Linked DNA regions of Homo sapiens: all the other regions are linked to region 3. Evidence: promoter capture Hi-C in 16 types of primary human blood cells and fetal thymus (Javierre and others, 2016). All regions are on one chromosome and are shown on one strand. The core of a region is centred on a gene start or on the middle of the fragment in contact, and the rest is flanking DNA. Distances in the headings are between cores, read along the strand shown.

Evidence for each region. The method cuts DNA at HindIII sites, captures the fragments that hold promoters and counts their contacts. A CHiCAGO score of 5 or more calls a contact.
Region 1: a fragment that was not itself captured here is called in contact with the fragment with the promoter of IGSF9B in region 3 in 4 of 17 cell types (activated CD4 T cells, naive CD8 T cells, naive CD4 T cells and 1 more); the score reaches 6.8 in activated CD4 T cells.
Region 2: a contact is called between a fragment that was not itself captured here and the fragment with the promoter of IGSF9B in region 3, in 4 of 17 cell types (total CD8 T cells, total CD4 T cells, non-activated CD4 T cells and 1 more). The highest score is 10.3, in total CD8 T cells.
Region 4: a contact is called between a fragment that was not itself captured here and the fragment with the promoter of IGSF9B in region 3, in 7 of 17 cell types (naive CD4 T cells, activated CD4 T cells, naive CD8 T cells and 4 more). The highest score is 15.7, in naive CD4 T cells.
Region 5: a fragment that was not itself captured here is called in contact with the fragment with the promoter of IGSF9B in region 3 in 7 of 17 cell types (non-activated CD4 T cells, activated CD4 T cells, naive CD4 T cells and 4 more); the score reaches 9.7 in non-activated CD4 T cells.
Region 6: a contact is called between a fragment that was not itself captured here and the fragment with the promoter of IGSF9B in region 3, in 7 of 17 cell types (naive CD4 T cells, total CD8 T cells, activated CD4 T cells and 4 more). The highest score is 8.5, in naive CD4 T cells.
Region 7: a contact is called between the fragment with the promoter of GLB1L2 here and the fragment with the promoter of IGSF9B in region 3, in 7 of 17 cell types (activated CD4 T cells, naive CD4 T cells, total CD4 T cells and 4 more). The highest score is 14.2, in activated CD4 T cells.

What each region holds. Positions count from the first base shown.
Region 1 is chr11:134,297,521-134,301,129 of GRCh38, forward strand. The region is part of intron 9 of GLB1L3 (galactosidase beta 1 like 3); the gene reads left to right. Among named protein-coding and RNA genes, the nearest start is that of GLB1L3, 23 kb to the left of the region's middle. The HindIII fragment of the contact is 4,912 bases long and covers 1-3,609 here.
Region 2 is chr11:134,348,468-134,352,235 of GRCh38, forward strand. All of the region lies in intron 5 of GLB1L2 (galactosidase beta 1 like 2), which reads left to right. Among named protein-coding and RNA genes, the nearest start is that of GLB1L2, 18 kb to the left of the region's middle. RefSeq lists a silencer at 1,161-1,220. The HindIII fragment of the contact is 1,324 bases long and covers 1,102-2,425 here.
Region 3 is chr11:133,955,641-133,959,220 of GRCh38, forward strand. IGSF9B (immunoglobulin superfamily member 9B) reads right to left here and starts at 1,328. Exons shown (of 20, transcript NM_001277285.4): 1 at 1,051-1,328. The coding sequence starts at 1,114. RefSeq lists a silencer at 1,157-1,506. The HindIII fragment of the contact is 2,603 bases long and covers 1-2,213 here.
Region 4 is chr11:134,235,385-134,239,209 of GRCh38, forward strand. All of the region lies in intron 2 of VPS26B (VPS26 retromer complex component B), which reads left to right. Among named protein-coding and RNA genes, the nearest start is that of VPS26B, 13 kb to the left of the region's middle. The HindIII fragment of the contact is 992 bases long and covers 1,720-2,711 here.
Region 5 is chr11:134,280,898-134,284,569 of GRCh38, forward strand. It overlaps GLB1L3 (galactosidase beta 1 like 3), which reads left to right. Exons shown (of 20, transcript NM_001080407.3): 4 at 480-548; 5 at 1,128-1,223; 6 at 2,840-2,948. Among named protein-coding and RNA genes, the nearest start is that of GLB1L3, 6.4 kb to the left of the region's middle. The HindIII fragment of the contact is 1,534 bases long and covers 1,604-3,137 here.
Region 6 is chr11:134,260,442-134,264,081 of GRCh38, forward strand. It overlaps ACAD8 (acyl-CoA dehydrogenase family member 8), which reads left to right. Exons shown (of 11, transcript NM_014384.3): 7 at 603-738; 8 at 834-931; 9 at 1,297-1,449; 10 at 2,079-2,181. Among named protein-coding and RNA genes, the nearest start is that of ACAD8, 8.7 kb to the left of the region's middle. RefSeq lists silencers at 140-189, 1,692-1,741. The HindIII fragment of the contact is 386 bases long and covers 1,185-1,570 here.
Region 7 is chr11:134,329,368-134,333,237 of GRCh38, forward strand. GLB1L2 (galactosidase beta 1 like 2) reads left to right here and starts at 2,621. Exons shown (of 19, transcript NM_001370461.1): 1 at 2,621-2,780. The coding sequence starts at 2,695. RefSeq lists a silencer at 2,471-2,770. The HindIII fragment of the contact is 5,891 bases long and covers 1-3,870 here.

The DNA of each region.
Region 1 (3,609 bases), core at 808-3,307, 340 kb after region 3:
ACTTATTACTTATGTCAGTTTAAAAAACTGTAGCTGTTGACTTAGAATTTAAAATATAGGCCGGGCGCGGTGGCTCACGCCTGTAATCCCAGCACTTTGGGAGGCCGAGGTGGGCGGATCATTTGAGGTCAGGAGTTTGAGACCAGCCTGACCAACATGGTGACACCCCATCTCTATTAAAATACAAAAATTAGCTGGGCATGGTGGTGGGTGCCTGTAATCCCAGTTACTTGGGAGGCTGAGGCAGGAGAATCGCTTGAACCCAGGAGGTGGAGGTAGCAGTGAGCCAAGGTCGTGCCATTGCACTCCAGCCTGGGTGACAGAGGGAGACTCTGTCTCAAAAAAAAAAAAAAAAAAAAGAAAGAAAGAGAGAAAAAAATATATATATATAATTTAAAAATTAACCTGACACGACTAATCATACTGAAGTGTAGGTAGTACTAGGATTGTACAATAGTGTCTTCTTAATTCCCCACTCTAAAGATGTCTCTTCATTATTGTTTCTACTTCCATGGTTTCTGATGAGAAGTCAGTATTAATTCTTATCTTTTTTTTTTGTCTTTTATCCTCTGGCTACCTTTAGAATTTTCTGTTTGTCTTTAGTTTTCAGAAGTTTGAGTGTAATATGCCTAGATGTGGTTTGTTTCTTAAAATTTATCCTGCTTGGTGTTCCAGGAGATTCTTGGATCTGTGGTTTGGTGAAATTTACCAAACATTAAGTAAGAAATAATAATAATTCTACACGATATGTTCCAGAAAATGGAAAAGGAGAGAATACTTCTAAACTCATTTTATGAGGTCAGCATTGTCCTAATTCCAAAACCAAATAAAAACAACTAAAGCAAAGAAAACCAAAGACCAATTTCCCTTATGAACATGGAAGCAAAAATTCTCAACAAAGGATGAGCAAATTGAATCCAGCAATATGTAAAATGATAATACATTACTGATATGGTTTGGCTGTGTCTCCACCCAAATCTCAACTTGAATTGTGTCTCCTAGAATTCCCATGTGTTGTGGGACAGACCCGGTGGGAAGTAATTGAATCATAAGGGCCAGTCTTTCCCGTGCTATTCTCATGATAGTGAATAAGTCTCACGAGATCTGATGGGTTTATCAGGGGTTTCCACTTTTACTTCTTTTTCATTTTCTCTTGCTGCTGGCATGTGATAAGTGCCTTTCCCCTTCTGCCATGATTCTGAGGCCTCCCCAGCTATGTGGAACTGTAAGTCCAATTAAACCTCTTTTTCTTCCCAGTCTCAGGTATGTCTTTATCTGCAGCGTGAAAATGGACTAATACAATTACATCCTAGTGAGATTCATCCCAGGAATGCAAGATTAGGTCATTAATTTTGTAGAATTCTGAGCTGTCACTTATTAGATATTTTCTCTGCTCTCTCACCTTCTGCAATTCAAATCGCACGTACATTAGACCACTTAGTGTGGTCTCACAACTCTTGGATGCTGTTTTCTTTCCCACTGTCTTTTTTTCTCTTTACTTTTCAGTTTGCTTAATTTCTACTGACTTATCTTTAAGTTCGTTGATTCATTCCTCATGCCTGTTGAGTTTAGCGATGAGCCTATTGAAGAAATTTTTCGTTTCTCTTGCTATGTTTTTGATTTCTAGTATTTCCATTTGCTTCTTTCTTAGTTTTCATCTTTCAGCCAAAATTATCTATCTGATCTTGCATGCTGTCTTCCTTTTCCATGATAGTCTTAAGTATATTAATCATAGTTATTTTGAATTCCTTGTGAGATAGTTACAACATCTGTGTCTTATCTGTTTCTGATGATTGCTTTATCTCTTCCAAGTGTGTTCTTTTCTTGCCTTTTTGTATGTCTCATAATTTTTTATTGAAAACTGCGCATCATGCATAGGACATAGATACTGTCTTGGAGATCAGCCTGCCTTTCATTCTGCTAGGCCATGTGGGATTTTGTGTTCCCCTCGTCTGGAGTTAGGCTGGTTGTGGGGTTTGTTGTTGCTGTGTTATCCTTTGTGCATCATGGGCTTCAAATGTTTCTGGTGGTACCTTGTGTCAAGGGCAAGTGCTGGTTTGGCAGAGGTTGTTTTCTCTGTGTCTGCATTCCCCTCTGAGTCTCGCCTTTGCATTGAGTCCCACAGAGAATCTGTTGCTTGCGGATCTCTCAGCTATAGTATGTGTTACTTTTTCTCCAGCTTGGTTAGCCTGCTGGTGAGGGAGAAAGGCTTCCCCTGATGTTCTGATTATGCCTTATTGCCAGCAGATGCTGTCTGTGGGTCTGAGGGGTGTGGCCTTTGCAGGTGCTCCTACCCAGCTCTTCTTCTAGCGGCAGATCTGATCCTAGCATGTGTTCCTCCTTTCCCAAGGATAGTGCATCCCCTGCCCCTTTCCCAGATGCAATGGATTTTATCCAGTTAAGATGTCCTTAAGTGACAGCTTCTGTGCTGTTTCTCAGCTGATTGGGGCTTTTGTTCCCTAGAGAAGATGGGCTGGGAGAAGGTCTGGCAGTGGCGGTGGCTCTCTCCCCTCAGCCAGCACCAGAAAGGAAGCTGTGTTACTTTGTTAGGGTTGCCATAGCAAAGGACCATAGACTGTGTGGCTTAAACAGCAGATGTTTATTTTCCCACATTCTGGAGACTACATGTCTGAAATCAAGGTGCTGGCAGGGTAGGTTTCTTCTGAGGCCTCTCTCCCTGGCTTATTGGACGGCTGTCTTCTCCTCCCTGTGCCCTCACATGATCTCTTCTCTGTGTGTGTCTGTGTCCTAATCTCCTCTTCTTATAAGGACACCAGACATATTGGATTAGGGCCCATCCTATTGACCACATTTTTTTTTTTTTTTTTTTGAGACATAGTCTTGCTCTGTCGCCCAGGCTAGAGTGCAGTGGTGTGAACTCGGCTCACTGCAAGCTCCACCTCCTGGGTTCACACCATTCTCCTGCCTCAGCCTCCCGAGTAGCTGGGACTACAGGCGCCCTCCACCACGCCAGGCTAATTTTTTTTGTATTTTTAGTAGAGACGGGGTTTCACCGTGTTAGCCAGGATGGTCTCTATCTCCTGACCTCATGATCCGCCTGCCTCAGCCTCCCAAAGTGCTGGGATTACAGGCGTGAGCCACCGCGCCCGGCCCCTATTGACCACATTTTAATCAAGGCGCCTACAGGCTGTTCTCCTCTGAGGCCTCTCCTTATCTTGCAGATGGTCACCTTCTTAACGTGCCCTCGCATGGTCTTTCTGCCGTGAACACGAGACCCTGGTGTGTCAAAATTTCCTCTTCTTATGAGGACCCCGGTGACATGGGATTAAGACCCACACTAACAGCCTCACTTTTACCTAATTACCTCTTTAAAGGCTCTGTCTCCAAGTACAGTCACATTCTGCAGTACTGAGGGTTAGGCCTTCGTGTGAATTTGGCTGGGGGACGCAATTCAGCCTGCAACAGAGACTTGCCCGGGATTCTCCCGAATCTCCCCTCAGAACAGCTGGTAGACTTGGGGAGTTAAAGCCAGCATCAGGGTGTCAGCCGCCATCCGTCTCGGCTCCCTTGACTTCAGACTCTCACGCTGGCCCACACTGTCTTCAGCACTTCTTTAATATGATCTATTTGTGTTATATTAGAGGATCT
Region 2 (3,768 bases), core at 514-3,013, 390 kb after region 3:
GCAGGCTCAGAGGCACTTGCAGACGTGCAGCGGGTCACCAATGCATCTTTTTGAAATAAACGATAACATAATTATTATTATTTAACATATTTAAATAATCACATAGTTATTTAATTTTTGTGACTATGGGATAGTATACATAACATAAACTTTGCCATTTTAACCATTTTGAAATGTACAGCTCAGCGGCATTGAGTCCACCCACACTGTTGTGTGCTCATCTCCACAGCCTTAGTTCAGGCTGCCACAACCAAACACCTAGACTGAGTGGCTTACAGACAAAGAAATTCATTTCTCCCAGTTTTGGAGAGTGGGAAGTCCAAGAACAAAGCACTGGCAGATTCGGTGTCTGGAAGGGCCCCCTTCCAGGGCATATACGGCCATCTTCTTGATGCAACCTTACATGGCAGAGAGCGTCAGAGAGCTCCCTGAGGTCCCTCTTATAAGAGCACTAGCCCTGTTGGCAAGGACTCTATGCTCATAACTAATCACCACCCAAAAGTCCCACCTCTGAATACCGTCACAGTGGGGGTTAGGATTTCAACATGTAAATTTTGGGAGAACACAGTCTATTGCAACCACTGTCTATCTCCAGTCCTTTTCTGTCTTCCCCAATGTAAACTCTGTGCCGTTAAACCCTCCATTCTTCCCTCTCTCAGCTCCTGACAGCCATTCTACTCTCTGTCTCCATGCATTTGATCATTTTAGCTACCAAATATAAGTGAAATCACATAGTATTGTGACTGGATTATTTCACTTAACAGCGCCCTCAAGGTTCATCTGTGTCATAGCCTGTGTCAGAATTTCCTTCCTTTTTAAGACTGAATTATGTTCCATTGCATGTATATAACACGTTTGTTTATCCTTCATCCATTGACGAACGTTTGAGTTGCTTCTGCCTTTTGGCCACTGTAAATAAAGCTGCTGTGAGCATGGGTGTACAAATACCTTTCTGAGCCCCTGCTTTCGCTTCTTTTGGGTATATACCTAGAAGTGAAATTGCTGGATCAACTTGTCATTCTACATTCAGTTTTTTTTAGGAATTGCCATACCGTTTTCCACAGAAGTTGCACCAAATTACATTCCCACCAGCAATACACAAGCTTTGCAATTTCCCCACATCCTTGCCAACACTTGTTATTTCCTGTTTATCTGGGGAGAGCCATCAGTGGGTGTGAAGTGGTATCTCATGGTGGTTTTGATTTGCATTTCCCTGGTGATGTTGAGCATCTTTCATGTGCTGATTGGTCTTTTGCATATCTTGGAAGAAATGTTTATTCAAGTCTTCTGCTCATTTTTGAATCTAGTTGTTTGTTTTTATGTTGTTGATTATAGGAATTCTTTTTACTTTCTGGAGATCAATTCCTTAACAGGACCTGCCAGGACTGGGTCCTTCGCTTCAAGGCAGCAGGTTCCCTTTTGGCTCAGGGTATGTCTAGAAGTGTCTGGAAGCTAGGGCCTGGAACGAGGGCCTCTTGACTCTGCCGGCGCCCTTTCCTACTGTGGTTGAGCTGGATCCAAGATGCAAGACAAAGTCCTCTTTACTCTTTGCTCTCCTCTCCTTAAGCAGAAGGAAGGAGCCACTTTCGTTGCTGTGAGCTGCGCTACCTGGGCTTGGGGGAGGGATGTGCAAGAACTCCCTTAGCCATGCCAGCTGGTGGCTCCTTAGGCCATGCGCTGTGCTAGTACACTGGCTGTAAGCTCATCCTAGCTCCAGGAGTTGCATAGGAATTGCGGTCTTTGTGTCCTAGACTGCCTTTCATGTTTACCTAGGACTCCAGAGCACTTCAGCCCATGGTGGTGAGGCTTCCCAAGAAACTCAAGTTCCAATCACTAGGGTGGGCAGTTCCTCTCTGGCTAGGGCTGGTCCAAATGCTCCGTCTACGTGGATGCTGGCTGAGCTCAGCATGGCTTTATCCTGTGCTGTGACAAGGCAGCACTGAGTTCAATGTAAAGTTCCCCAGTCACTGTGCTCTCCCTTCCCCAAATGCACAGATCCTCTCTCCTCACCACTTGGCTGCCGCTGGGAGATGGGAGAGGGTGGCATCGGTGGTGTAAGGCTGTCTCTCTTGCCTGCCTTAATGCGTCTTTTGGTGATATGAAGTTAAAACCAGGTACTGTGACGGGTCACTTGAGTTTCGGTTTTTGTCATGGTGCTTTTCTGCGTGCAGATCACTGTTAAAATTTCGTGTTCCAGCAGGACGGATGAACGGTGCAGCCTTCTATTCCTCCATCTTGCTCCACTGTCTTTTATTTTCTTTTAGTATTTTGTTTGTAATGTACAATCAGTGTACAAATATTTCACCTCCTTGATTAAATGTATTCCCAAGTATTTTGTTGTTTTTGATGGTGTCGTAAATGGAATTGTCCCCTGATGGTGGATAAAAACAATGCATTTTTGCACATTGATTTTTTTTATCCTGCAAGCTTACTGAATTATTAGCTAGATAGTTTTTTTTAGGGGTGTGGGGATGTGCACTGTTTTCTGCATTTAAGATCATGTTGTCTGTGAACAGAGATAACTTCTTCCTTTCCAACTTGGTTGCCTTTATTTTTTTCTTGACTAATTGCTCTGGCAGGACTTCCAGTACCGTGTTGAATAGAAGTGCTGAAAGCACGAATGCTTGGTTTGTTCCTGATCGTAGAGGAAAAGTTTTCAGTCTTTCACCAGTGAATATGATGTTGACTGTGGGCTTTCTGTATGGGGCCTTTACTATGTTGAGGTAGTTTCCTTCTGTTCCTAGTTGACTGAGTGTTTTTTATCATGAAAGAATGTTGAATTTTATCACTTTTTTCTGCATCAATTGGGATCATCATGTGGTTTTTCCTCTTAATTTTGTTAATGCGGTATATTACATTGATTGATTCTTTTTCTTTCTTTTTTTTTTTTTTTTTGAGATGGTGGTTCCCTCTTGTTGCTCAGGCTGGAGAGCAATGGCGCTATCTCAGCTCACTGCAACCTCCTCCTCCCAGGTTCAAGTGATTCTCCTGCCTCAGCCTCCTGAATAGCTGGGGTTACAAGCACCTGCCACCATGCCCAGCTAATTTTGTATTTTCAGTAGAGATGGGGTTTTACCCTGTTGATCAGGCTGGTCTCAAACTTCTGACCTCAGGTGATCCACCTGCCTCAGCCTCCCAAAGTGCTGGGATTATAGGCATGAGCCACCATGCCTGGCCTACATTGATTGCTTTTCACATGGCAAATCATCCTCGCATTACAGGAATGAATCCCATTTGATCATGGTTTATAATTCTTTTAATATGCTGCTGAATTAAGTTGGCTAACATGTTGTTGAGGGTTTTGGCATCAGTATTCATCAGGACTGTTAGTCCGTGTTTTCTTTTCTCATAGTGTCTTTTGTTTGTAATAAAAGAAAAAAGTGTCAACTTTTTTTGACACTTCTATATCCAGCAAAACTCAAAAATGAGGGAAAAATTAAGAAATTCCCAAAGAAAAGTGAAAAGAGTTTATTACTGTATTCTACCTTATAGAATAAGGTAGGAAGTGTTCCTTCCCTTTCAATTTTTGGGAAGGGTTTGAGGAAGACTGGCGTTAATTTTTCTTTAAATATTTGGTAGAATTTACCAGTGAAGCCATCTGGTCCTGGACTTTTCTTTGTTGGGAGGTTTTTAGTTACTGATTCAGTGTCCTTACTAGTTATAGGTCTGTTCAGATTTTATATTTCTTCATGATTTAGTTTTGGCATATTATATATTTCTAGGAATTTGTGTGTTTCATCTAGGTTATTTAATATTTAATTTGTTGGC
Region 3 (3,580 bases), core at 78-2,577:
AGCCCTGAGCTCACAGTCCTGGCACCCTCCAGGCTCCGCTCCCACTTCCATACAAGGGCCGAGAGCCGGGGGTGCCACCCAGAGGCTTGTAGGTCGCTCTGCCCATCTCCAAAGCAAAAGCCCGCGCGCTCACGCACGCATCACCCAACTCGGTGGCTCCCCCCTTGCGTCTCCCCCAGCTCAGACCCAGGAAAGCGGAAAGAGAAAATCCCCCCTCCGCTCGGATTCACAGCGTGGGGACCCCCCCTTCCCCGCCCCTCCCCTCCCCCGCCGCCGCCCCCAGCCAGCTCTGCCTCGCAGCCTGGGGAGGGCGGCGTGGGGCCCGCGCGGCTGCGGCGCGCTCCCGGGGAACTTTTGCCTGGCCGGGGCCCAGGTGCGGCTGAGAGGCGCGGGGGCCGGCGGGGTCCAGCCAAAAGCGGACACACCTCGAAGCTGGCCTCATCAATCCTCCTCTCACCGGGCGCCCCTGCTAGGGGGATCCGACCTCCAGCTGCCAAGATGTGTGGGCAGGAGGGGCGCGAGCGGAGCGATGGACGCCCGCAGGGCCGCGCGAACCCGGGGCCTTAGACGCGGGTGCCGCCAGTCCCAGGGATCCTCCGGGTCGCGCCTCCCTGCAGGCGCTCCTCGCGGCGCGGGGCTCTAGCGTGCTGCAGCCTGCCCGGAGACCGCAAACTCCCGCAGCCAGAGTTTCCCGCAGCTCTGGGAGGCGGCCGCCGGGCAGGAGGCGACGGGCTAGGCGCGCCGGTGTGCACCGTGGGGCCCGTGGTGGGCGAAGTCGACCCAGGTTCCACTGCGTCCTTTCCCCGAGTGCCCGGCAGCCCGTGGGCTCTGGCCCCTTCCCGCCCGCCCCTCCAGCCCACGGCCCCCAGGCCCTCCCCGGCAATGCTCCCGGGCCGCCTGGCCCGCGTCGGAGCCCAAGCCTCACCCGCGGGAAGGCGCGCCGGGGAGCTGGGGAACCGGGGGGCCAAGGAGCCGGGAAACCGAGGGGCCGGGCGCGAGGGGCCGAGGGCGCCGGGAGGGGCAGGGGAGGGACGCCGCACTTCAACTCACCTTCAGCCGCAAGCCCTCGGGTGCCGATCACACTTGCTATGAAAGTGGCCACATACCAAATCATAGTACTACCGCGCCAGCCCGGAGCCTCATCCTATCGCAAAGTGCTCCCGCGCCCGCACGCGCCTCGCGCCCGAGCGCCCGCCTCGCGCCCGCCTCGCGCCGCCTACGCCCCGCGCCGGTGCTCCTGCAGCCCGGGTGGCCAGCTCTCCATCCCTCCTAGGCTCCGCTCGGCTCGGCGCGCGCCTCCCCGGCCCCGGCGCAGCGGCACCTGCACTACTCGCCCGGGCGGAGCGCAGCCAGGTCCACGGTGAAGCCTAGCCGGGCCGGGCCTCCGGAACCGCCCCCGCCGCCCGCCTATTGGGCGCCGCCCGCAAGCCGGGGGTCCGATTGGCTCAGCCTTCCGCCCGTCGCGGCGCGAAGGAGGCGAGCCCATTTCAAGGTGCGTTGAAGTGTGGCGAGCACAGAGCCGCAGAATCATGCGCATTGCCGGGGAGAAGGTGGTATAGCGTCTCTGCCCGCTTCTCTCTCGGCTCACACTGCGTGGCAAGTTTCTGGTGAGGGAAATGGTAGCTTCTAACGGGACCCTGGCGGGTCTCAATTACCCCGGACAGGTCTGAGGGAAGTGGAGCCCCCGCCCACTCATGGAACCCAACATCCGGTTTCCATCCGGCAAAAAGCAGTTCCCGAGAGGACCATGCTGATTCTATGATGGGGAAACCCAGGAGCCGGCGGCCCGGGAGAGCCGGGGAACGTCCTTCGCCGGAGATCTTTTCAAAGAGGTCACGCGCCGCCTCCCCACCCCGTCTCCCTCCGCACCCAGACACGTCCCCAGAGCAGCGCACCACCCCCTCCAAACGTGATGCAGACCGGGGGATGACTAAAATGACCTCTCAAAGTCGCTAAGATTTAGAGTGAGTCATTGGCTCAGCTGCGAAGTGCCACAGACCCCTCAGGAACACTCGTGCACACACACTCCACCCCCAGTGCTGGTCACTGCTGCTCATCATTACTGAATCCCGACTCCAAGCAGTCAAAGTTGGGTCTTTTTCCCACTTCTCCTGATAAAGGCTGCTTCCTCACGCACATGGTTCCTCCCCTCTCCACCTTACTCGGAGCCCAGCCCCGACTCGGCCGCATGAAACCAAGATGGGTTTGGGGGAAGCTTTAGGAGTCTGGGATGGAGGAGACCCAGGGAAAGGGAAGGAGCTTCTCATCCTACAGAGGAATGTAAATAGGAAACTGGAAGGTCTTCGTATGTTCCAGTCTCCCTACCCTAGCCTGTCTGCTTCCCCTCCCCCAATACAGTTGTATTTGCAGAAGAAATAAATGAGTGTCATGGAAACATCTACTACAAACAATCACCTCACACCAGCGCTCAGAGGCTGCAGTGAAGATGTTTGTTCTTTCAAGGAGTGAAGGCAGTGGTAAGAATCACACCGCTCCCTGGGATGGGCTGTTGGCCAAGGAAGGAAGGCAGAGGGTCAGCGAGCGAGAGCTCAGGAATTTCATCCTCTCAAAGCACTCGTTAGCCACAAAGCCCTGGCTCCAGGACATGAAGCTCCCAAAACAACAAGAAGGAGACTTGCTTCTGGGAAAGCGTGCACACAGGTACACACACATGCACAAAAAGTGGCCTTGAACACCGGAGGTGGAGCATTCCCTGACACCGGAAGCCTCTTAGCTCACCGCCAGCTGGGAGGCAGAAAGAGGCCCCCAACAGAGCAGTCAGTGAGCACATGGATAAAGGTCGAGGGCCTGGATAGATCCAGAGAACCAGGACTGTTGAATAACCTTCTACCCTACCCACCCCTCCACCTGTGCAAACACACTCAAGATGCATAACTTGGGGCCATCTCTCCCTGAGCCATGATTTTGGTTCTCTTCTTGGGCAAAGATGCCTTTCTGGGGACAATGAAGTGAGCTGCTCCAGGTCTCATTGATGCAGTGATCTCCAGGTCTCATTGATGCAGTGATTTCCAGGTGGCATGACCCAGAATAACTCCACCCCCAACACACACACACACATATACATACACACACACTTACACACTTTCCCAGGGCCCCGGGACTGTAAAGACATATTGGAATCCATTTGCAGAATTGGTCATAACAGGATCCTTCTCCTCCCACAACCTCTAAGCAGCTAACTGTGGCCTAGAGAAAAGTGCCGGATCCACAAAGCCTGGCCCTAGTTCCTCACCATTGTTAGGTATGGAGTGGGAAACATCAGGTCTCAGAGAAACCCTCTCCTAGGGGCCTGCAGGGCAAGGAAAAAGATGGAGCCACTCTCACCACCCATCTTGATTGCTTTGTCTGGCCATCCATTTGTCCTACTCAGGGTTCTGCCTCCTGCTAGGAAAGTAGAACTGTCTGTCAGAATGGATGGCGGGCATGGAGGCTCATGCCAGTAGTCTCAGCTCCTCAGGAGGCTGAAGCAGGAGTATTGCCTGAGCACAGGAGTTCTAGGCTCAGTGATCATGCCACTGCACTCCAGCCTGGGTGACAGAATGAGACCCTGTTAAAAAAC
Region 4 (3,825 bases), core at 966-3,465, 280 kb after region 3:
GGAAAATAGGAAGTGATGAGATTTTCGCATGTCTTACCTTTGTTTTTAACATGATTCATTTAATTGTGAGTTTATATAATTTAACTTTAAATAATTGCTGTGTTTAACAGCCAGGTCATAAAATTCCTGAAAGTTCAACGTCAGCCACCCCCAGCACACTCCTGCTGGCTGGGTGTCAGGAGATCCTGACCTGCTGTCCGGCTCTGCCACACAGCTGCAGTGTGACCTTGAGCTCTGTAACTCAGCTTTCTCACTTCAAAGTGGGTAATGGACTTGGATTCTAATTCTAGATGTCCTCTTCTTTTGGGGGTGATAAGAAAATAAAGTTCTTAAAATGTGAACACATAGGTACATGGATTGTTTTTACTGTTATAGTGTTGGAAACTCTGAGAATAGAGACTGATGCCAAGGTCTTTTGGGTGAAAAAAAATCTACAGCAGATATAGACTGTTAGGTGTAAACTTGAGGTTATGTGATGCTACTGGGATAAAGCAGTCTCCCCTGTGACTCTGAACACCTGATTCCAGGTCTTGATACCATCTCATAAGATCGGTTTATCTCCTCACCTGAGGACCTGAGTTTAGGATGGTACACACCACAAGACCTTTAACTTCTTTTCTTTCTCTGTCCTCCCTTCTTCCATCAGAAGAGTGAAGGCTCTTTTTAAATCTTTGCAGAGGTGGTGGTTCACGCCTGTGATCCTGGCACCTTGGCCAGGAATTCGACACCAGCCTGGGCAACATATTGAGACCCTATCTCTACGAAAAAAAAAAATTTTTTTAATTTTTTTAAAAGAAAAAAAACAAATCTTTGCAGAGAGGTCTAAGACTGACATTACACCCAGTAAAGACAGTGTCTCATAATCGCACCCAGAGAATGCAGCAACCGCGAGGATCATCTAGTCATCACTTCAGTTTGACCGAGGGATTTATTATTTAATTTTTTTTTCTTTTGCAGTGGATTTGTCTTAAGCGTTTGTACGGCAGAAAGAAAGGTGTTGAAACCAGTATAGCAGTGCCTCAAAAAATTAAACAGAATTACCATATGATCTAGCAATTCCTCTTTTGGATCCAGAAGCGGATCCAAAAGAATGGAAAACAGGATCTCGAACGGATATCTGTACACCCATATTCACAGCAGCATTATTCGCAATAACCAAAAGGTAGAAGCAACCCAAGTGTCCATCAGTGGGTAAATGGACACAGGAAATGTGTTTTGTCCGTACAGTGGACTGTTATACAGCCTTCAAAAGGAAGGACATTCTGTCCTATGCTACAACATGGGTGAACCTAAAGGACATTGTGCTACGTGAAAGAAGCCTGTCACAAAAGGACAAATACTGTCTGATTCCATATATATGAGGTACCCAGAGCAGTCAAATTCATAGAGACAGAAAATAGAATGGTAGAGGCCCAGGGCTGAGGGAAGGAGGAAATGGGGGTTGGTGTTTAATGAGTAGAGTTTCAGTGGCGGAAGGTGGAAAAGTTCTGGAGACTGATGGTGATGTTTGCACAATACGAATATCATTAATGCCACTGAACTGTATAATTAAAAATTGTTAAAGTGGTAAATTTTATGTTATACGTATTTTGCCACAATAAAAGAAAAGTGTTAATGTCCAAATCACATGAAGACTTTAGGATTCATGTTGCGAAAGAGAGGAGGTAGAGATAGGAAAATTAGTTGAGGACAGTTTAAAGATGTAACTTCCAGATTAAAAGCTTTTTCTTATTACACAGGCAGAGGGAAAACATGAAAAGATTATTGTGGACTTTTCTTTTGTCTTTAGGCAGAGAAAAGGTTATTTTGGAAGATTGGAGTCCATATGTAGCATTTGGTGGATGGGAAGAGTGTAGAGACAAAACTATCAGAAGGCTATTGTGAGGTCCTCCGAGTATGATTTTGGTGGCTGTAATGGGAACAAAGAGAAAGTGAGGAATGTAACAGACACCAGCAGAGATTACCAGTGAGTGCAGGCATGCAGCCGTGGAGATGGAGACAGAGGGCTATCAGGAGGAAGAAATGATCTGGAGATAAGGTGATTCATCCAGCTCTAGAGGGCAGGCTGAAATACTGGCAAAATAGAGAAAGCATAAAAGTTTAGCAGACAATTGGAAGCGCAGACCTGGCACTAAGGACAGAGGGGACACTTAGAAATGTGCAGTCAGGACTGATCTGCTCAGAGGTCATAACTGATACGTTTTTGAAGAAAGGGAGCACAAGGAGAGGAGAGCCAGGACCCACCAGGGCATGGCAGGAGGAGGAGAGGGGGGTGAATCAGGGCAGCGCCTCTGTGGAACCGCGGGAAGAGTGTTTCAAGGAAGAAGTGTTTCACGGGACGCAGAATCAAGGGCTGCTGGATTTGGCAGCTGGGAGGCCATGGGTTACTGACCTCGAGGCGAGCGGTTTCTGTTGGGTGGTGGAGACAGAAGCAAGGGGTTGGGAGGAGTGGTTCGTGGAGAAGCCTCAGCTGTTGGTGCAGAACCCGCCTTGTGACAGTTGTCTCTGAAGAAAGGAAAAGAAAGTATGGTAGGTCAAGAGGGTAAGGCCTGGAGAGGGTTCTTGGGATTGGTGACTTTGGAAACCAATTTTTTAATAAGCTCAGAGGAAAAGGCCTTTAGCTAGAGGGAGATTGATGATCTTGGGGAAATCAGAATATGTAGAAGGATCCAGATGCCGGACCAAGGCTTCCACATTAGAATCATGTGGGAAGCTTTTTAAAATGCGAATGCCTGTGTCCCTTTCCAGACAATCACATATCAGGTGTGCCCAGGCAGCAGGATTCTTAAGGGCTCTCCTCTCCTGGTGATTTCATTGTGCATCCATATGGAGAGTTCTTGGGCCGGAGTGGGGAGGAGAGGTCTTGAGAGGGAGAGGTGCTGTTGGAGACAGGATGGGTGAAAATGCAGAGACATGTTTAGGCCTTAAGTAAGGAACAAAGCAGAGGAAGGAGCACATTGTAAGTCTTGACTGGGAAGGCCTTCATCTTCTTAGTGGAGTAAAAGTCAGTGTCTTCCCAGACAGCGGGGTGGGGAGACTTGGGAGGCTGAGCAGTTAGAAGAGGGCTAGGGACAGGTGTCTTGGGCAGTGTGATGGTTACTGAGGTGAACCGAAAGGATCCCCAAGAAGCAGCCAGTGCCACACAGAGGATAGTAGCCGAAATGTGTAGTTGGTATGGCTAGCATATCTTTATGTATTTATTTATTTATTTTTATTTGATTTTATTTTTTAGACGGAGTCTCGCTCTGTTGCCCAGGCTGGAGTGCAGTGGCTTGATCTCGGCTCACCGCAAGCTCCGCCTCCTGGGTTCACGCCATTCTCCTGCCTCAGCCTCCCGAGTAGCTGGGACTACAGGCGCCCGCCACCACGCCCGGCTAATTTTTTGTATTTTTAGTAGAGACGGGGTTTCACTGTGTTAGCCAGGATGGTCTCGATCTCCTGACCTCGTGATCCGCCCGCCTCTGCCTCCCAAAGTGCTGGGATTACAGGCGTGAACCACCGCGCCTGGCCATATCTTTATAACTTCATCTGGTAATGCTTGACAGATGGTGGGGATTATCTAAGTTTTATTTAAAAGAAAATACAATTTATTATATTACATTAGATTATATTAAAATAATGTTTTATGGAGAAGGAAATACAATTAAAGAGCTCCTCCTCATTGAGTGTTAGCACAGTGCTAAGTGCCGGGGATGACAGTGCTGCACTGGCGGGCCACAGAGGGCAGCTTGTTAAACCCTTCAGGGCTGTGTCTCTGTCTTCTCTCTCATCCCCTCCACAGCAGCGTCCTCCCCAGGGATCCTAGGTTCAGCCAGAGACTTGTTA
Region 5 (3,672 bases), core at 1,121-3,620, 330 kb after region 3:
ATAGCCCTATGGGGGAGGGTCCCCTGGGGGCCCTTCTTGCTAAGGTCTAAAGGTAGTACCCTTACTAGATTTACTGTAACTCCACTATCTTCACAGAAACTCCTCATTTATTCTTATTTTGACTAACTCATAGCAAAAATTTATAAGGAAGATGTAGACATTTTTGTTTTTGTTCTCTTTTTTAATTTATACTTTTAATGAGTGTTACAATAGGGCAGTGAGTGGAAGAATTTATATATAAATCCCAAGAAACCCAGCATCATAGGATAATTGGCAGCTTGAACCACAATTGGATAATAGAGCAAGGAACTATTAAAGATGGTCATGGTTAGTGTAACAGAGGTTTAATTTCCACTGGTAACTTCAACTTATTTCAAAATAGAGCTATGCATGGTTTTGGCTTGGATTTGGGGCAGACCTAACAATTTGGAGGAAGAAATAAGAAGATACTCATCATACTTCCCTCTCACCTCTTCTAGCTATGTTCCGTGGAACCTGCATGAGCCAGAAAGAGGCAAATTTGACTTCTCTGGGAACCTGGACCTGGAGTATGTGGTGTTGCTGCTTCTGTGCCCTGGTCAGGGGCAGGGCACAGAGGTGGCTACTGGGGGTGGATTAGCAACCAAAGAGAACCAGGGAGGGACGTGGGTCTGGAGTCCTGTTCTAGGACTGTGAGAGGCCCTGCACCCAGGACCCAGACGCTCCCCAACCGTGACCTGTCACCCAGAGGGACTGGGCCTGCAGCCTCCGGGCCCCACCTCTCCACTGCAGCCCAGAGGGGCAGAAGACCCTGGGAGCCGCCCGACTCTGCATGGGGTCTGGCGCCTGGGCTGGGGCAGGGCGGCCCCTCTAGGCTAGCAAGGCTATGGGGTCAGGTTCACTGTTGAGACCACTGAGCCCTGGGTGTCACCCTTCCTCCTCAGGCCCCCGATGGGGCTGTGCAGAGGCTCTGAGGCTGGGAGCAGCTCAGGCCACCGACCTGGTGTGGGAGTCCCCACGCTTTGGGGGTGGGGCCGAGCCGTCCCTTCGCCCCACCAGGCAGCTCCTCCACCCTGTGATGCGTGTGGCCCCCACCCGGCCTCATCCTGGGCCGTCGTGGGAGGGGCTGACGATGTGGACCTCCCTAGGGCCTTCGTCCTGATGGCCGCAGAGATCGGGCTGTGGGTGATTCTGCGTCCAGGCCGCTACATCTGCAGTGAGATGGACCTCGGGGGCTTGCCCAGGTAAGCGGGGCTACAGTCCCAGAGTCGTGGTTCTAGTGAAGTATTTGCTTTAAAAAAAGTGAATTTCAAGCTAGTAACAAGGAAAGTAACCTTTATTCACGGAGCCGATGGGAGGTGTGCTGCCCCACGCCACGCACCGTGCCTGTGTTGTCTTGTGGGAAGCCTGCGGTACTGCGGTGGCGGGGGGCGGGGTGCAGTTGTCATCCCCGATTCACAGATGAGAAGCTCCAGACGTTGGTCCTGGGGCCTTGGGCATGCGGTCAAGAGGGTGTGCGCGGGGAGAGGTGGCCACAAGAGGCTCCCACTCTTCTTTCCCCATGCAGGAGGGGCTGTAGCCTCCTCTGTCCTTCTCAAAATGCCCTGGGAAGAAAGGGACCAGAAGCTTTAAGGCCTGCAAGGGAAGGTTCTGACGACTCGGCTTGTTTTGAAAACTTCTGATCTTTCGCTTATTTTGTGAGGGGAAGGCTTGCCTTTCCATGCAGTGAGACCACCCTCAGCTCCCCTCCCTTCCCTCTTGCTTTTCTTTGCCTTGTTCTCTCCTCTGTGATTCTGGCCCCCAGCCCAGACTGCTGAGGGTCAGGGTGAGACTCCAAGACTCCTCTCTGCCACCCCTGTGGTGGGCAGGGCTTCCTGGGGAATCTGGGGCTCTGCCTCCAGTGAGCACCTCTGCACCTCAGAGTCAGATGAGGCCTTTGCTTTTCTCCAGGATGAAGAGAGAGGTCTTTGCTTTTCTCCAGGGGCAGAGAAAGCCTGAGCTGAGGGGAGTGGAGTTTTCGGGAAGCAGTGACTCCCGGCATAGCTTGGCTGGAGGCCTGCCTGGCACTTCCCCAGTGACCTGGAGTGGGTGGAGTATCATTGGCACGTAGGCTCCTGCCCTGAGCCTGAAGCCTTAGCCCTTAGTGGAAATGTGACACTGTGCCTAAGGAAATTTTTTCTGTCCCCAAGAATTTTTTTTTTTTAAGACGGAGTCTTGCTCTCGTCACCCAGGCTGGAGTCCAGTGGCGCGATCTCGGCTTGCTGCAACCTCTGCCTCCCGGGTTCAAGCGATTCTCCTGCCTCAGCCTCCTGAGTAGCTGGGATTACAGGCGCCCGCCACCACACCCGGCTAATTTCTGTACTTTTAGTGGAGACGGGAGTTTCGCCACGTTGGCCAGGCTGGTCTCGAACTCCTGACCTCAGGTGATCTGCCCACCTCGGCCTCCCAAAGTGCTGGGATTATAGGCATGAATCACCGCGCCTGACCAAAAAATGTTTTCAATAAACTGAAAAAGAATAGAGAGTGTTCACCAAAAGGTAGAAGAAAAAGCTCTTTAAGACATGGCTGTAAGAGCCTTGACAGGCCAGCCCCTCAGTCAGACCAAATAGAGCTGAAGGCCTTTCCGAAGTTGTGAAGTGCCTTGGAGGTGGAGGCGGCCGTTTCCTTTCAAATCCCACAAGTCTGTGAGAATGGTCTGAAAGTCTCACGCGGCACAGATCTTTCCAGGACCCGAGTGCTCCGGGACCGGGGGTGTGAGGCAGCTGGGCAGATGTGCGGCGAGCCGGGGCAGCTCTGAGCCCACTCCTGCTTCCCTCTCCCAACCCGTCTCAGACCCTGAGCCCGCCCCTCTTGCCCCCAGCTGGCTCCTGCAAGACCCCCGGTTACTGTTGAGGACAACCAACAAGAGCTTCATTGAAGCAGTTGAGAAGTATTTTGACCACCTGATTCCCAGAGTGATTCCTCTCCAGGTAAAGCCAAATTGTCCCCTGCATCTTTCTTACGTGCCCTTTAGGGAAAGAGTTTGTTCTGGCTTGATCACTGAAGAGGCCACATGCAGTCTCCATGAACAATTGAGTTGACTTTCTTGTAACCTTGAGTTCTGGACCCTTGGCTTGAGGACAGAAGCACTGACCTGTCCTGTCCTTGTTGTCCGGGTAAGCTTCCCCAGGGTTGCTAGAAAGACTCATCACACAAGGCAGGGACTGGTTGTCCACATGAACTTACTATTCCTCAAGCTTGCCAATCTTCCCATTGCTTCTTTCCACTTTTGACATGGCAAAAAGACTCAGAAGGTACAAATGAATTTTTGGTCAGATAAAAATCTCACCTTCCACCCTGTCCCAAAGCCATTTAGTTGCCCTTTCAGGAGACAACCAATTTTACTAGATTTTGTGTCTCTTTTTAGAGATTTTATCAGCACAGAAGCAAATTATACACACGTGTCTATGCCTCTCAGGCATTTTTCTTTTGTTACTTGAAATACGTAGATTTGAAACCAGCCACTCTTTTTAGTGCCTGCACACTGTTCCCTAGTAGGGATGTATCATAATTCATTTAACAGGTATTCAGTCCAGGCTTGGTGACTCATGCCTATAATCCCAGCATTTTGGGAGGCCGAGGCAGGGGGGTCACCTGAGGTCAGGAGTTCGAGATCAGCCTGACCAACATGGGAAACTCCATCTCTACTAAAAA
Region 6 (3,640 bases), core at 128-2,627, 300 kb after region 3:
ACAGCTCCTCGGGTTTCTGTATTTTCCTACAGGATCCTTCCTGATCCTCTGTAACTGTAAGGCATTATGCATTTTAGCATCCCCTTCTCTTTGGTAACACAGCAACCATTTCCTAGGCTTCTACTGTGTGTGAAGCCCATGCTAACTCCTGGGCAGGAAGACCTTCAGTAAAAGGCTTAGAAATGGAGTTTATCCTATCAACAAAAGAGAGCAAGGAAATGATGTAAAGGCAGTCTATTTTCAGAGCCAGAGAGGAACTGGGAGATTGTAGATAGTTTGTGGTTTTCAATTAGAGGCACTGAAATTGGGGGCAGTTGGTGTCACAATCCTAAAAGAAGTTGTGAGAAGTGTTTGTAGGTTAGTCAGGTAGAGTAGACATTAGTAGATTCTCTTAATAAGTTAGAAAATGTTTAGCTGAAACAGGTATCTTTCTGAGTGCTGACAGGCCTTTAAACCTGAACTTTTTCTTTTTCCTCATTTTAAGTTCTTGTGGGTCTAAGTCTTGGGTGCTGAAACCCATACCTCACAGGCTCCCGTCCCCAGGGAAGGCCGCCCTACCTGCTGGATTGTTGGGCAACCACGCAGTCCCTGATTTTTGCCAGGTGGGGTGGAACTCCCAGCCAACACGAGCTGTGATCTTCGAAGACTGTGCTGTCCCTGTGGCCAACAGAATTGGGAGCGAGGGGCAGGGCTTCCTCATTGCCGTGAGAGGACTGAACGGAGGGAGGATCAATATTGGTGAGATACGCAGGGGTGTGGCAGGGAGGTAGCGGTCCGGGACAGGCACTGCTGTTTTCCAGCTTGGTTGGAACGTCGGCGCTCTTCCCCTCTAGCTTCCTGCTCCCTGGGGGCTGCCCACGCCTCTGTCATCCTCACCCGAGACCACCTCAATGTCCGGAAGCAGTTTGGAGAGCCTCTGGCCAGTAACCAGGTAACCTCTGCCTTGCCTCCACATGGCTTTGCACTATTTGCAGCCCGGGACCTGCTCTAGGGCCCACATTTCCAGGAGAGAAGCCAGGAAATTCCTCTGTCAGTCCCACCACTGTCCTAGCCAGAGCTTGTGCTTTATTTCTGTCCATCTTTTCTTGGGATATCTTTAACGATATTAAAGTGTCGGGTGAGTGAAGTGGACTTAGCACTTAAAAGCAATAAATTTCCTCTATAGAAAAAGCAAGAGACTTTGAAGCTTTGGATCACTTAGAAAAGGCGCCTCCGAGATGTCTTACCGAGGCTCCTGCACCAGGTGCTGGTCTAAGCCCCTCAGTCTTGTCTGGTTCTCTGCTCCCTGTGCTGCAGTACTTGCAATTCACACTGGCTGATATGGCAACAAGGCTGGTGGCCGCGCGGCTGATGGTCCGCAATGCAGCAGTGGCTCTGCAGGAGGAGAGGAAGGATGCAGTGGCCTTGTGCTCCATGGCCAAGCTCTTTGCTACAGATGAATGCTTTGCCGTAAGTGATTCCTCTGGCTCTCCTGGGATGGACAGGGAACAGCTGCTAGGCCCAGGGGTCTTGAGAGACATGAGTCAGATTTGGAACCCAGCCCTCCTGGAATCCCACAAGGATCACCTTAAGCTTAAGGATATAAATGAACTCATGAGCGGCCTATGTGGGAGCTCTCATCGCTGGCTTTTAGGCCTGCTGCATGCCATTATACACTTCATTATGTCACTGTTGTTTGGTTGTGTTCTAGGCGAGAAACCACCTTTGGAAGGTTCACAGCAGCCCCAATTTAGCACTCTGCCATGTTTACATTGTCAGGCTGCATTGCCACTAGGGGGAACCATAGCTTTTTATCATCCCAGCCAGGGTGGCTGTGGGCAGCTTCTGCCTGGCAGGTAATAAGGGAGAGGGGCAGAGGGCTTTGAGTCGCCTGTCTGGGGGGAACTGACAAGTTTAGTAGGTGAACTTCCCTTGTCTCTAACCATACAGAATGTGGAGGCCCTCTTTGAGCTTGGCTGTTTGTGGTTCTTTCATGGGTTTATGGCGGGCTGCCAGATCGTGGGCTGGGGTAGGAAGGGAAGCTGCTTGCTCCACAGTCTTCCCAGAGTCCAAGACGTCTAGTCCCTGTCTCCCTGCAGATCTGCAACCAGGCCTTGCAGATGCACGGGGGCTACGGCTACCTGAAGGATTACGCTGTTCAGCAGTACGTGCGGGACTCCAGGGTCCACCAGATTCTAGAAGGTAAAAATTGCCAGAGGTTATTCTCTTCCCTTCAGAACGGGGGCGGGATCGCTGCTTTCCCCACTCTCTGTCCCCATGCCTCCTGGGCCTCAGGGTGCAGTCAAGCCCTGTCTGTCTCGAGGCTTCCTCCTCCCTCCCGTTCCGCAGAGCTGTTCTGGCAGGGGCCTGGAGTCCAGAGCCGCAGCTTCGTCCCTTTCGGGGGGCCTCAGATCGCTCTGCTGCTGCCCTTTTCCTCTGGAGATCTGCGAGAAGGGTGAACTGAGATAATGGATGAGAAAGCATGTTGAAAACCACAGCCGGGGCTTTTCTCTAAGGTTATCGAGTACGTGGTTCTCAGGGATCCAAGAACAGTGATGGACAAGGCAAATGTGAGCCAGTATGGTCATCAGTAGCTCTATATTGATTATCAGCCAGATGGCCTAAAAGATACCTGTCTCAATATTACTAGTGTATTTTTCAATAAAATAAACCATCACTATATGGGTATCTTCTTGGTAGTCACAGACATTCTATCGAGGAAACATGGAAGCCGTTGGGGTCGGGCTCGGAGCCTGGCTGTCTCCACTCTCTACAGCCAGTGCGGAAGTCTTGAAATGACACGACTCTTGGAAAAGCAGGAGGGGCAGAGGCTTCTTTGAGTGACTTCGGTGAAGCAACGTGAGGCTGCCTTGCTGGAAACATTATATAATGGGGCTTCCCTGCCCCTTTCACAGCACCCTTCTCAAACCTCAGCCTGTGCTGGAATCGCCTGGAGGGCATGGGAGCGCAGATTGCGGGCCTCAACCCCAGAGCTTCTGCTCCAGAGGGTCTAGTGTGGGCCTGGGAATTTGTATCTGCAACAAGTCTTCAAGTGAGGCTGCCACAGCTTGTCTGAGAACCACACTTTGAGACCCACCGCTCTGGTGTTAATGTCAGAGTCACAGGCTACCACAGGTTAGACCGCTGCTTTCTTCTGCAAACCTCATTCCAGAAAGATGTTTATGGGCTCAGTCGCCAGTGTTCAAACTGAATTCCCGAGAGTCGTTTTCCTTCCATTACTCTTGGAATTGCTTTCTCACTGAGCTTTATGTGCGTAGGAAACTTCGCCTTCATTCTAACTCTCTCTCCACCCTGCAATAATAAGCAGGAAAACATTTATTGTAGGCCACACCATCACCCACTTACAGAAGAATTGGGGCACTCATCACTGTATCACTTTGTTTCATCATGGACTTTACTGTTGGATAAATCTACAGTTTATGCTTTATTTGAGACGATGTGACTACTGATTCCTCGAGGGGGTTTATATTTCTTTTTGCATTAAAGGCCACTGCTAAAAATGAAGCAAATAATTGATACCCTCCTTTCAGGGAAAATGTTTTCATTCTTTTGTAAGTCAGTTTTCTGATTACCAAAGAAATGTGTATTTATTGTTGAAACCTTATAAAATTAGGAAAAGTAGGCTGGGTGCGGTAGCTTA
Region 7 (3,870 bases), core at 1,371-3,870, 380 kb after region 3:
TTTCTTGTATTTTCTAAACCCTGGACACTAGAAAGAAGGCCTGGGAAGAGGATGATTCCTGTGTACCAGGGATTCATTACCAAGCCAAGCACCTTGGCAGACCACTTTTTTACCCCACTCTTATGCCAGCTCATTGTAACTGTAGCTTTTGTTCCCAGGGATTTGAGTATTTTCACTGTCTGCTTTGGGTTAAGATCACTAAACATTTTGGAAAGGAGACACTGAAGGAGTATCTTGCTAATTTTTTTTTTTTTTTTTTTTTGAGACGGAGTCTCGCTCTGTCGCCCAAGCTGGAGTGCAGTGGCACGATCTCGGCTCACTGCAAGCTCTGCCTCCTGGGTTCACGCCATTCTCCTGCCTCAGCCTCTTGAGTAGCTGGGACTACAGGCGCCCGCCACTACGCCCGGCTAATTTTTGTATTTTTAGTAGAGATGGGGTTTCACCGTGTTAGCCAGGATGGTCTCGATCTCCTGACCTCGTGATCTGCCCCCCTCGGCCTCCCAAAGTGCTGGGATTCAGGCTTGAGCCACCGCACCCGGCCTAATGTTTTAAAAAACAAAAGTCTCAGGCTGGAAATGGTGACTCACGCCTGTAATCCCAGCCCTTTGGGAGGCCGAGGCAGGTGGATCACCTGAGGTCAAGAGTTTGAGATCTGCCTGGGCAACATGGTGAAACCCCGTCTCTACTAAAAATACAAAAATTAGCCGGGGAAGGTGGTGGGTGCCTGCAGTCCCACCTATTCGGGAGACTGAGGCAGGAGAATAGCTTGCATCCCGGGAGGCATTGCAGTGAGCTGAGATTGCACCACTGCACTCCAGCCTGGGTAACAGAGTGAGACTCTGTCTCAAAAAAAAAAAAAAAAGTCTCAGCCTATGAGCAAGACGCATCTCGGGTTAGTGCTAACTTTGTAGCATTCTGTGGTATCATTAAGCCCAGATAAAGTAAAATTGTTCCTAGACTGTGAGCAGGGTGTGTCCCTAGTTCTGAACATCCCACAAGGTTAAGGGGAAATTTTTTTGAAAACACTCAGTTATGTATATTTTTCTCGCACAAATAAAAACGAAGGATACAAGGGTGGGCCAAGGAGTTCACGGTTTTCACAACCCATGTTAAGTTTTTGCTAACGTTTGAAGAAAAATGGAGATGCTTGTATTGCTTAAACCATTTGAGAATTCCCTTATATTTGATAGATTCTGCCACTGTTCAACGTGACCAGAAGTGAGAGGATGAATGTGGGGTGCATGTCTTTCGGATGGTCCCCTGCAGGCAAAGGGGCTAGCCTTTGACAATTTCTCCACACGCTTCGGGGCTAGCTGGTATATTCCAATTAAACCAACATGTTTCCATCACAGACTTCATAGCCATCAAGCAATCATAGCCTTACCCAATGGAGAAAAGGAGCGGGCTTGGAGCGCGTCCACGGGAGTGGGCCTCCCTCTGCGCGCCTCTGGGAATGTTTGCGGTGCTTAAGTCAGACCCGGATTGCTCCAAGCCCAGCTTATCCTCCCCAGTTCTGCCAGGGTTTTTTTCCTCTTGTTTGTTCGTTTGTTTTTGCCTCTCTTTGATTTAACTTTTGCTCCTTGACTAAATATGTGCTTAACGCTAGACAAAGGACACTTCATACCCAAGTCTGTGTCTTTGTTCCAAGATCTGCAATTTCATTTGGTTCCTGTCGGCTTTACAAGTTCAAAACTATGCCCCCGTTTAGGAAATGAATTCAAAGCATGCGGCAAGGGAGACATTCGACAAACCCGGATGCTCTGGAAAACGTTGCCCTTCCTCGAGTTTCTTTCAGTAAAATCTGAATTTTGTTCCCGGGAGGAGTTGGGTTTGTGATTGCTACAGTGTAAGTTGCACCGAAATACTACATCATGTTCTTTGGGACATACATTCTGTTTCAGAATAAGAATGATATTCTTCCTTTCCTAAAATGTGAGAGTTTTATATGGACCTTTTTAAAATAAAAAATTGGAAGCCCTTGGAGTCAAGGCCAGAGTAAGACTCGCAGAAACCAAAGACAGAAAATATTTGGAACCCCCCCTCCTCAGACATGAACCACACTGAAATGTGTCCAGATACAATTCTTCAAAATCCTGGCTTTTCACAGGATGATTTGTTATTGAAAAAGTTGTTTGCTTCAGAATCTGAATTGTTTTAAAAGATTCTGTTGGTTGCCCCTGCTTTGCGGACGCCTTTTGTACGTTCTTCCTGATGTAGCGCTGCGAGGGGCGACTTTACCTCGGCGTTTGACAGGTACGCAGCATTCCCGCACCCGCCTGCGCCTCGCGAGCAGAAAGACGGCGGACTCTGCACCGCTCCACGACACTGGGGACCCGCCCCGGCCAGACCCGTCCCCTACCGAGACCTTGTCCCCGCCCCGCCCCCGGCCGGGGCCCCGCCCCGCCAGCCCCGCCCCCGCCAGCCCCCTCTCCTACCGAGACCTCGTCCCCGCCCACCAGCCCCGCCCCGCCCCCCCCCCGACAGAGGCCCCGCCCCGGCCCCGGCCAGCCCCGCCCCCGCTTGCGCGAGGCCTAGGGCTGCAGGCGCGGAGCCGCGAGCCCCAGCCAATGAGCGCCGGCGGGCCGGTTGCCCAGGCGACCAGTGCGCGGCTCCGCCCCCCGCGGCGAGGCTCCCGCGCGCGGCTGAGTGCGGACTGGAGTGGGAACCCGGGTCCCCGCGCTTAGAGAACACGCGATGACCACGTGGAGCCTCCGGCGGAGGCCGGCCCGCACGCTGGGACTCCTGCTGCTGGTCGTCTTGGGCTTCCTGGTGCTCCGCAGGTGAGAGAGAGCTTCGCGCAGCACCTGCCGGACCCCACATTCCCCAGCCCTCCGCACCTCGGGTTCTCTCCTCCCGCGACCCGCGAATCCCGAGTTCCCGGGGGGAGCAGCCCCAGCTGCTTCTTTCTGGGAGCTCCCCAATACCCCCGAGTTCCCCTGCGGCTGCAGGCACTCTACTCCTGCCGCGCGATCCAGGCCTCTGGGCGACACCCGGCGTGCCCTCGGGAGCCGGCGTCTGTGCCCCGAGCCGCCCACCCCGCCGCGCCTGTGACGCCGGGCTCTGCCCCCCGTGGACGCCCGCAGCCCTCCAGCCGTCAGAGCCCTCTCAGACGCACCCCATCGCGGCCCCGTCCCCACTGCTCCGCGGAGAGCTCCCTCTGCCCTTCCCCCAGGCCCCCCTTTTCCTCCCAAGCCTCTGGGAGGCGCCTTATTCCGCAGAGGCCGGCGCTTCAGCCTGGCAGGTATGGTCTAGCCAGCTGGCCTGGCAGGGTCGTAAGAACAGTGTCCGTGGGCCTCCAAGATCCCGGGCCATGATTTATTTGCACAGTAGGACTGATAGGTCGTCTCTCTCCACTTTCCCACCATTCACCTGTTACCAGCTCACCCTTTCCTCTCCCCCTTTTCCAAATGTTGTTTATGGCAAAGGAGTGGCTTCAGTGATACTGTGATTTACCCACAGCCTGTGAAAAAGTTTTCTGGGTGCCCTAGCCCAGCATTTTTCTAAACTGTGCTTATTTTAAGGATTCTACAGCCCTGACCCTATCTTTCAGGTCAGCACTTTCCATATTCAAAACCTCCAGTGGGAAGCCGACCGGCAGTATCGAATGAACTGAACGGTTGGAAGTGGTGGCAGGCCCTACGCCGCTCGGCTTTGTCATTTGCTTCTTTTTTACTTAGAGAAACTAAGTTCTTAGTTTCTCTGCACTTCCCCTGGGAGACAGGGAAGTTTTTGATGGAGATAAATATCTGGAAGTCCTTTGTGGCCAGAAGAACACACTGACAAACTCTATGTTTACACCTTGTCAAGACTGGATTCTTGTTTCTGAGATAGTGGGGACGTCATGATATTGTTTGGGAGAAGGACGGATTT